2 separate regions of the Homo sapiens genome follow, and region 2 is linked to region 1. Evidence: promoter capture Hi-C in human tissues and cell types (Jung and others, 2019). All regions are on one chromosome and are shown on one strand. Each heading gives the region's core, a stretch centred on a gene start or on the middle of the fragment in contact. The rest is flanking DNA. Distances are from core to core; before and after follow the strand shown. Region 1 holds the start of ARPP19 (cAMP regulated phosphoprotein 19). Region 2 has its middle 24 kb from the start of MAPK6-DT.

Region 1 (4,820 bases), core at 1,132-3,631:
TGGTCTCAAACTCCTGGCCTCAAGCAATCCTCCTGCCTCAGCCTCCCAAAGTGCCAGAATTATAGGCAAGAGCCACCACGCCTGGCTGTTTTAGTCTTAGAGTGGTATACAAGTTAAGAGATAAGAGTTTATACTTATTTTTTATGTTTGTACATATTGTTTCCTAATACAAGACAGGAATCTATCTGGTTTTCTTCTCTTACCAAGGGTGCACACACCACTCAAGATAGAGAAAGTGACTTAGCTTTTACTCCATGCAAGGCCCAGCTATCTACCTTAATTCTTTAGCGGCAACAGGCAACCTACCAGTAAACTATAAAGGTATTTTTAGCTGAATACTTTGGCTTTAAGTGGAAGGTCAATTGGGTACACAGACAATAACTTAATTTTTTAGGTCATCGAACTGATCTTCCAAATAGAAGAAACAGGTGATTTGGCCCACAGGAACACAGAAGTGACTGTGCACATTTTCTTCATGGTTAGGGACACCATCCACGCCACAGGCACTTAGCATTTACAGCCAATCCTCAATTTAAGAAGGAACATTATATTCCTAACACACTTTGGTTGATTTTAATGACAGCAGCTAAAACCAAAGCACCTTAAATGTTTAATGTAGACAATCAATAAGAGAAAACGTTCAAGCTATCCTTAATATTGTTAAAAGATACATTAGGCTTTTCCAAGTAAAAGTATTTACACTCTAGAAGTCAATACTGCATACTTTGGCAACATACTAACAGAACTTATCAAAGAAAATTACATAGCACACTACTGTGCACCAGAAGTTAATGCTAAGTTTGATGTAAGTGTTTAAGGCAAACCACCACAGACAGGGACTTGTTATTTTTGGGGGCTCCTAAATTTCAAGCAATAATGAACACAATACGCATTTTACAATAAGCAGGTGATACTTAATAATACTGTTAAGATTGCAAACTTTAATATTTGTATTTTTGCCCCCAAAATCCATTTTTTTGGTAATGCGTAAATATATCTATTTTCACGGGATATTCTCAAATAATGTGGTAACTTGGACTTTTACCTATGCTATATGTTTTCTTGTTTTTCAATTACTTTAACATCCTAACAGAAGCACCCAACTTAAGAAAAGTTAACACGGTTTTAAGAACATATGGAATGGGCTTAGAACACTAATCCAATTCCCAACTTAATTAGGACATAAGTGCAACATTAAGCAGAAACCCGCACGAAGGTCAAGCAGTAGACCAAAATCGTATTTAACGGCAACACAACCTGATTTGTAAGAAAAATTGTTGATAAACAATTTAGGAGACAAGATACCTCGGCCCTTTCTCACTTCTCGGCCAGTCACACCTGCCTAGGAGGGCAGGGCGGTGGAAATAATTACAGTGGGAGAGACAAACACCAGCCTAGATAAATACAAAGGCTTGATATTCATAATTTGAACCACAGTGACACTCCCGGCCTATTCCCCTACATCAGGAAGACACAAGGGCGTTTACAAAATATTCCTGTTTCCAATAAAACCCTGATTAATTTCGTGAGTAAAATTTTAAAATTCCACCCTTTCGATTTTTAGTCAAGTACCATATTTGAGTCCCATCGACTGAAACCTTTTTGAGCACAGACTGCGCTGCACACTACACCTGACTCACCTCCTCTAGGCCTCACCCCGCCGTGGGAGGCAAGCACCAGTATTCGGCCTTTACAGGTGAAGACACTGAAGGCCGGACTTTACTCACTGACCATGGTTACAAGGGTTGGCCCTGAAATGCCAATCCTGGCCCACATCGCGGCCCGCACACGAGGCACTGCTTTTGGAGTGAACCGCACGCTCACAATACAAGTAGTTGGAGAGTTCTTCAAAGGAAAAAATAAAACTTCCTAACCAAATTGAGGCTTACAGAAAAACTTAGGCTCTACGCCCAAAGCCTGCGTCCTGGGCTCTCGCGTAAATATAAGTGACTGAGGAACACCGCGACCCACGGAGGTGTTACAAAAGGCACGATTCGGAGTAAACGCGGGGCACGTTGGAACTCCCAATTCGTCGGCGCACCAGCCAGCGACGGCGGGAAGCCAAAGGTGGGGCGCAGGAGCCTCGGCCTCATGCGCCTCGGCCCCGCATCTCGGGCGCGGCCCTCCGCCTGGCGGGAGCAGGCCGCCCGCCAGACCCGGCCTTGGGCAGGGCCCAGGGCTCACGCCCCGCGCGCTCACCTTCTGCTCCTCCGCGGAGGCTGCCTCGGGGACTTCCGCAGACATAGTGCTCCCTCTGCAGACGAGACGCCGGGAAAAGATGCAATTAGCGGGTGGCCGAGGCCACCCGGCCGCCGCCCGTCCCAGCTCTCCCAGGGCCCGCCGGGCCGCCTCCGCCCGCGAAAATGGCCGCCGCCTTATGACGACACGGAGCCGCGAAACGCTCCGCTGGCCAAGGCCCTCGCACGCCGGAGCCCGCCTGCCCCTCCCGCACCGCACCCCTACCTACTTGACCCCGCTTCTCCCGCTCGCTGTCGTCCAAACACTTCCTTTTTTCCTTCAAAGGTCGCCGCTCCTGCCTCACCTCACATCCGTTTGTGGCTGCCGAGTGCTTCCTGGGAATTGTAGTTTCTAAGTGGAACCGCCCCTCCCCGCCCTTTCCTGTCCACTCTGGTCCCCTCGTTCTAGGAGCTTTATTTTACTCTTTCCACTTACCCATCCTCGCCTAGTTCTGTTCTCCTCGCTCTCCGCTCTGTAGCCACACAGGCTGTCTTTTGGGCACGCCAAAAGTCTTGCTCCACTCTGCCACGCCTTCACATCTCCAGTCCTACGTCTCTGCCTCAGAACCTTTCCTTCCTAAACCTCTACACTAGGCCAGAGCCACCTCTTAAAGGCTGTCACAGCCCTGTACAGTTCCTCAACAACATGAACTGTATCATTACACAATTGTCGTGACTTTAGGTCACCTTTCCTTCTCAGATAAGCCGCACCAGGGCAGGGATCTCGTCTGTAATTACTTATATTTTACTCTGAGGGTCCAGCACTTCCTAGATATCTAACGAAGGAATTCAGATTCATTTGTCCACTCCCAGGGGGTCCACTCCCACAAGCTTACCGAAACTGCTAGCATTGAGCTCCCCCAATGACCTTTTTATTTGCCAAGTCCTGCGGCTTCTTACTGAATCCTCATTCTACTTGATATCTGAATAGTTACTCGCAATGTTTGTTGGTTCCAACAAAGTGTCCCTCAGAAACTTGGAAATAAGATTGCCCTCTAAAAGTTAAACTAGTAAAAAGCCACAGAAAATGAATGCATTTCTGGGGGCAGGGGAACAATTGAAAGACCCTAAATGCCTGGATAAGGAATTTGGAAACCATCGAAACTCAACCAGGATGTAGAATCTCAGACAGGAAGAATTGCACTGGAATTGCAACTAGAAAAACAAAAAGAGTTAATATTGCACTCCTTTTGGAGAAACGAAGGAAGGCATTTGTCAGCCAAGGAAGTATTGAAAATAAAAGGGTTCAACAGGCCAACTGTTTGACAAAGATATCCCTTAAGAATGTCTCACGCTGGGCTAGCTGAGAAACTGTAAGATCCACGACATATTTGTTCTCCTTCTATACTCACAAAGTAACATACTGAAAATTTGCCTTTCCCTTAAGCAGAACTGCAGAGAGAAAGAAGAGTGCAGTAGTTAGGCCACTGAAGCATTTAACAGTTGTATTTTTATTAATAAATTGACTGACGTTCTAGTATATGTCCTATATCAATGTATTTGTGAACTTGAGTTAAAATCTGATAGACATACACTTAATGATGAAACTCAGCCTCAAGAAAATTGGCTGTGGCTGGGCACAGTGGCTCACTCGTAATCCCAGCACTTTGGGAGGCCAAGGCGGGCAAATCGCTCGAGCTCAGGAGTTCAAGACCAGCCTGGCCAACATGGCAAATCTCTGTCTCTACAAAAAGAAAAAAAACTTTTTTTTCTTTTTCTTTTTGAGACAGAGTCTCAACTCTGTCACCCAGGCTGGAGTGCAATGGCACAATCTCGGCTCACTGCAACCTCCACTTCCTGGGTTCAAGCAATTCTCCTGCCTCTGCCTCCCAAGTAGCTGGGATTACAGTTGCCCACCACCACACCCTGATAATTTTTTGTATTTTTAGTAGAGACAGGGTTTTGCCGTGTTGTCCAGGCTGGTCTCGAACTCCCGGCCTCAAGTGATCCACCCGCCTCGGCCTCCCAAAGTGCTGGGATTATAGGAGCGAGCCACCACATCTGGCCTTTTTTTTAAAATTGGCTATGTGACCTTGGATAAAAAGAATCTGTTTCTGATAGTGACACTCGCAGAAGGGGAAGTTTGAATTTCTGGGGGCAGACTTTGGTCAAATGGAGAATTCACCATGGGCAATGCTCCACAATGAGGACCTGTCTGGAAAGCCATTCTTTCCCAACTAACACCACTCTGCATCATTATGAACCTTAATGTGTAAAACTGCACACTGGTCCCCAGCACCCTGTTTGTCAAAACTTCCTTCTCTTGATCTCCAGGATACTATTGTCTCATGGATTTCCTCCTACTTAACCTCCCTGTTGAATCTTAACCTGCCTCTTAATGGGAGGATTCTAACAGTTCTGTCCTTGGATCTCCTTCTCTTCTATGTTTACACAGCCTCCAGGAAATAACTTCCACCTTCATAGTTTTTTTTCTTTTTTGAAACAAAGTGTCACTCTGCCACCCAGGCTGGGGTGCAGTGGCACCATCTCAGCTCACTGCAATCTGCCTTCTAGGTTCAAGTGATTCTCCTGCCTCAGCTTCCCAAGTAGCTGGGACCACAGGCACATGCCACCATGCCCGGC
Region 2 (4,820 bases), core at 1,056-3,555, 570 kb before region 1:
GTTACCTCATTAGAAAAAGATGCACCAATCAGAGGAATTTCCAAGGATCTTTAGGAGCTCTGTATCATATGCACCTGTCACTCAGGAAATTACACAAGTCTTGGGAGCTCTGAGTCAGGAACCAAGGTCAAAGACCAAATATTAGAACAAAAGATCCTCCTAGCACCACTATTGCTCAGGAAATTAGAAGGGTTTTTAGGAGCGCTACATCAGGAACTGCAAATGAAGATCAAAATATATACCTTACGATGTCACAGACAGACCCAGGAGATTGTTTACAAATGGAAGGATTGATTAAATAAGTCATCATGTTAAGGATAGCAGGAATCAAGTTTCTCACTGGCAGAAATGGAGTTACATATGTGGAAAGTGAAAAAACTAGAAGAATTATTTGGTGTTGGATTAGAAAGGTATTAGTGTAAATTCATAATTTTAAATATAGATAGATGGATGTAGAAATAAATATAGATGTAAATGTGTGTATATGTAAAAGTTTATATATATAAATGCTCACATATATGTACACACATACATATATTTCATATATTCCCTAGCTCTGTCCACAAAAAGGGCCTGAGAACAGTGACACCTAATAGCAATGCGTACACATAATGCCCAGATCTTGGTTTCTCTTTTCTTTCTTTTCTTTTTTCTTTCTTTTTTTTTTTTTTTGACATGAGGTCTCACTATGTTGCTCAGGCTAGTCTCAAACTCCTGGACTGAAGAATCCTCTGCCTCTCTTTCCCAAGTAGCTGGGATTACCGGAACACACCACCATGCCCAGCTTAGCTCTCGGTTTCTTTTTATTTATTTATTTATTTATACTTTTTTTGAGACAGAGTTTTGCTCTTGTCACCCAGGCTGGAGTGCAATGGCACGATCTTGGCTCACTGAAACCTCCACCTCCTGGGTTCAAGCGATTCTCCTGCCTCAGCCTCCCGAATAGCTGGGATTACAGGCATTCGCCAACATGCCTGGCTAATTTTGTATTTTTAGTAGAGACGGGGTTTCTCTATGTTGGTCAGGCTGGTCTCGAACTCCCAGCCTCAGGTGATCTGCCCACCTCACCCTCCTAAAGTGCTGGGATTACAGGTGTGAGCCACCGCGCCTGGCCAGCTCTTGGTTTCTAAATACCATTCTCCACCAAAAGGAACCAGGGCCCCTTGGAGAATGGCTGATTCCCGGGCTGAGGCAGATGCTGGGCATGGTGGCTCATACCAGAGGCTGAGACAGAGGATTGCTTGAACCCAGGAATTTCAGACTAGATTACAGGCCATTTATTTTTATAGAATGTCTTTTAATTTAGGTTCGTCTGAGGTTTCATCATGATTATCACTGTGGTAAGCAATGATCGTGCCACTGTACTCCAGCCTGGGCAACAGAGCAAGACCCAGTATCTAAAAAAAAGATTTTTTTTAAAACTGGAAGTTTGATGAGGAATGGAATATTTACATAGCTTCAAGGTATTCCTCACAAAATACTTAAGTACAAAGAGAAAAAGAGTAACTTTACAGTGGAAAAGTCTGGAAGACACCATGTTATTCAAGTGATCAAAATCAGCCACATCAGTGATGGGACAAATTGACATCATGCTATTGGAAGAACACAGCGTTGATTCTCTGATTGTTCTGCCAAAGGTGCATGAATCTAATCATGATAAAACCTCAGACAAGCCTACATGGAAAGACATTCTATAAAAATAAATGGCCTGTAATCTAGAAAAGTATCAAAGTCATAGAAGTAAAAGAGTCTAAGGAACCATTCAAGATTGAAGAAGACGGAAGACCTATAATAACTAAATACAACCATCATTTCTGAACATTGCTGATTGTGATGATTGTGCTGGAGGAATATGCTTATTAGCAAGAAATACTAAAGTATTTGGGCATGATGGGGCATTTTCACAGTTTAAGCTTTGCAAGAAGTCTCTGAGTCAGAGTTTAGTGTCCAGGATGTTTGCTAGGGAGTGTCTTTGGGATCGACACCTGTGCCAGGGCAGAGGAGGAAGCAGGCTTAGACAGAAGGAAAAGTAAACTGTATGTAAGGAAGGCCCAGCAGCCTCAGCTGACCTCATGAGGAGCTCTGGAGCTACAGCGACCCTTGGGCATTGTCCCAAACCAGCCTGAAAGGGCTAGACTTCCAAATTATACCTTGATCAGCTGCTGGATGCAGACTGTTCCCAAAAGGGCATGAGCTTGGGTGAGGTTGCTTTCTGCAGCTGTAGGAGTTGATGACTGATTGCTGTCTGCTGACAGTACTCCAAGTAGAAGGGACAAGAAGTCCTTCCATAAAGGGAAGCTCAGTGGCTTCATCTCTGTGTTCATTCTTGTGCTGCTTTCACATCCACTTCTTCATATACGTTTGAGTAGTAACTCCTGCAAGATTTATGATAGGCCTCTCTCCCTGGGGAAACTTTGAAAAGGAAGACTTATAGGACAAACTATAGCTGCCTCCGCTATAGTTGTTCCTGGGGCCACAATCAAAACTTACAGGCTTTCTAGGCCAGGCGCAGTGGCTCATGCCTGTAATCCCAGCACTGTGGGAGGCCGAGGTGAGTGGGTCACTTGAGGTCAAGAATTTGAGAATATCCTGCCCAACATGGTGAAACCCTGTCTCTACTAAAAATACAAAAATTAGCCAGGCATGGTGGCGCATGCCTATAGTCCCAGCTACTCAGGAGGCTGAGGCAGGAGAATCGCTTAAACCCGGGAGGCAGAGGTGGCAGTGAGCTGAGATCACAGCACTACACTCCAGCCTGGGCTACAGAGTGAGATTCCGTTTCAAAAAAAAAGAAAGAAGGAAAGAAAGAAGGAAAAAAACAACTTACAGGCTTTCTAAATTCCTCTCATCCTCAGCTACCACCGCTTTCAGCCTTGGTAACTTACCTGGGGAGGCGATTTAGATTCCCATCTCAGAGAGGTCTGAGTTTCTGGTCACCAGGCCTTTCTAAGGACAGAGTTGCTGTATTATCCATTTACCTTCACAACAAGGCAAGGGAATAACAACAAGAGGCATTCAAGCAGATCCTCAGAGCACTGAAACATTTTTCCTTCCCCTTATCGTATAACAGAAGAAGACCTAACCTCTTCTAATGACCAGGGTCAATACCCCCGCCAAGATTGTTGGTCTACTTCTAGCCTGCTTGTCTCTGGATTCTAGGAGTCTTCAATGCCCAGATGGCAGCTTTTGCTAGTAATTCAGAGACTTTGGCTGTGTCCCCTGGTGGAAATATTCCCCTTTTATTTATTTATGTATTTATTATTTTTTTGAGACAGAGTCTTGCTCTGTCACCCAGGCTGGAGTGCAGTGGTGCAATCTTGGCTCACTGCAACCTCCACCTCTTGGATTCAAGTGATTCTCCTGCCTCAGCCTCCCGAATAGCTGGAATTACAGGCATGTGCCACCATGCCCAGCTAATTTTTGTATTTTTAGTAGAAACGAGGTTTCGCCATATTGGCCAGGATAGTCTCGAACTCCTGGCCTCAAGCGATCCACCTGTCTGGGCCTCCCAAAGCACTAAGACTACAAGCATGAGCCACGGCGCCCGTCCTCCTCCTCCTTCTTCTTGACAAAGTGTCATTCTATTTCCCAGGCTGGAGTGCAGTGGCATGACCATAGATCACTGCAGCCTGCAACTCCTGGGCTCAAATGATCCTCCTGCCTCAGCCTCCCAAGTAGCTAGGACTATAGGTATGTGCCACTGCACCCAACTAAGTTTTTTTAGTTTCTTATAGTGACATAGTCTCCCTATGGTCTGGAACTCCTAACCTCAAGTGATCCTCCTGCCTTAGCCTCCCAGAGTGCTGGGATTACAGGTGTGAATGACCATGCCAGGAAATTTTTTTTTTTTTTGAGACGAAGTCTCACTCTGTCGCCCAAGCTGGAGTGCAGTGGCACAATCTCAGCTCACTGCAACGTCTGCCTCCCAGGTTCAAGCAATTCTCCTGCCTCAGCCTCCTGAGTAGCTGGGATTACAGGCGCCCGCCACTACACCCAGCTAGTTTTCTTGTATTTTTAGTAGAGACTGGGTTTCACCATGTTGGCCAGGCTGGTCTTGAACTCTTGACCTCGTGATTCACCCACCTTGGCCTCCCAAAGTGCTGGGATTACAGTGAGCCACTGTGCCTAGCAATTTTTTTTTTTTGAAACAGAGTCTTGCTTTGTCACCTAGGATGGAGTGCAGTGGCATAATCTTGGCTCACTGCGACCTCTGCCTCCCGGGTTCAAATGATTCTCCTGCCTCAGCCTCCTAAGTAGACATGTGCCACGACACCCAGCTAATTTGCATATTTTTAGTAGACAGGGTTTCACCACATTGGCCAGGCTGGTCTCGAATTCCTGACCTCAAGTGATCTACCCGCCTTGGCCTCCCAGAGTGCTAGAATTGTAGGCATGAACCACCTTGCCCGGCCCAGGCAAATTTTTAAAGTTATTTTCTTTCTTTCTTTTTTTTTTTTTTTTTGAGATGGAGTTTCGCTCTTGTTGCCCAGGCTGGAATGCAATGGCGTGATCTCGGCTCACTGCAAACTCTGCCTCCCGGGTTCAAGCGATTCTCCTGCCTCAGCCTCTTGAGTAGCTGGTATTACAGGTGCCCGCCACCACACCCAGCTAATTTTTTGTATTTTTAGTAGAGACAGGGTTTCGCCATGTTGCCTAGGCTGGTCTCAAACTCCTGACCTCTGGCGATCCACCCACGTCAGCCTCCCAAAGTGCTGGGATTACAGGTGTGAGTCACCACGCCCGGCCTTTAAAGTTATTTTCTTTCTTTTCTTTCTTTCTCTTTCTTTCTTTCTTTCTTTCTTTCTTTTTTTCTTTTTGAG

The links. Contacts are between HindIII fragments. The study calls those that stand out against the background at their distance.
Region 2: a contact is called between a fragment that was not itself captured here and the fragment with the promoter of ARPP19 in region 1, in 1 of the 25 tissues and cell types used here (dorsolateral prefrontal cortex).

The regions. Positions count from the first base shown.
Region 1 is chr15:52,566,649-52,571,468 of GRCh38, forward strand. It overlaps ARPP19 (cAMP regulated phosphoprotein 19), which reads right to left and starts at 2,382. Exons shown (of 3, transcript NM_006628.6): 1 at 2,200-2,382. The coding sequence starts at 2,244. RefSeq lists enhancers at 1,233-1,981, 1,982-2,728, 2,782-2,911 and silencers at 2,082-2,181, 2,252-2,311. The HindIII fragment of the contact is 6,620 bases long and covers 1-4,820 here.
Region 2 is chr15:51,993,146-51,997,965 of GRCh38, forward strand. It overlaps a transcript of MAPK6 not described here. Among named protein-coding and RNA genes, the nearest start is that of MAPK6-DT, 24 kb to the right of the region's middle. The HindIII fragment of the contact is 6,257 bases long and covers 1-4,820 here.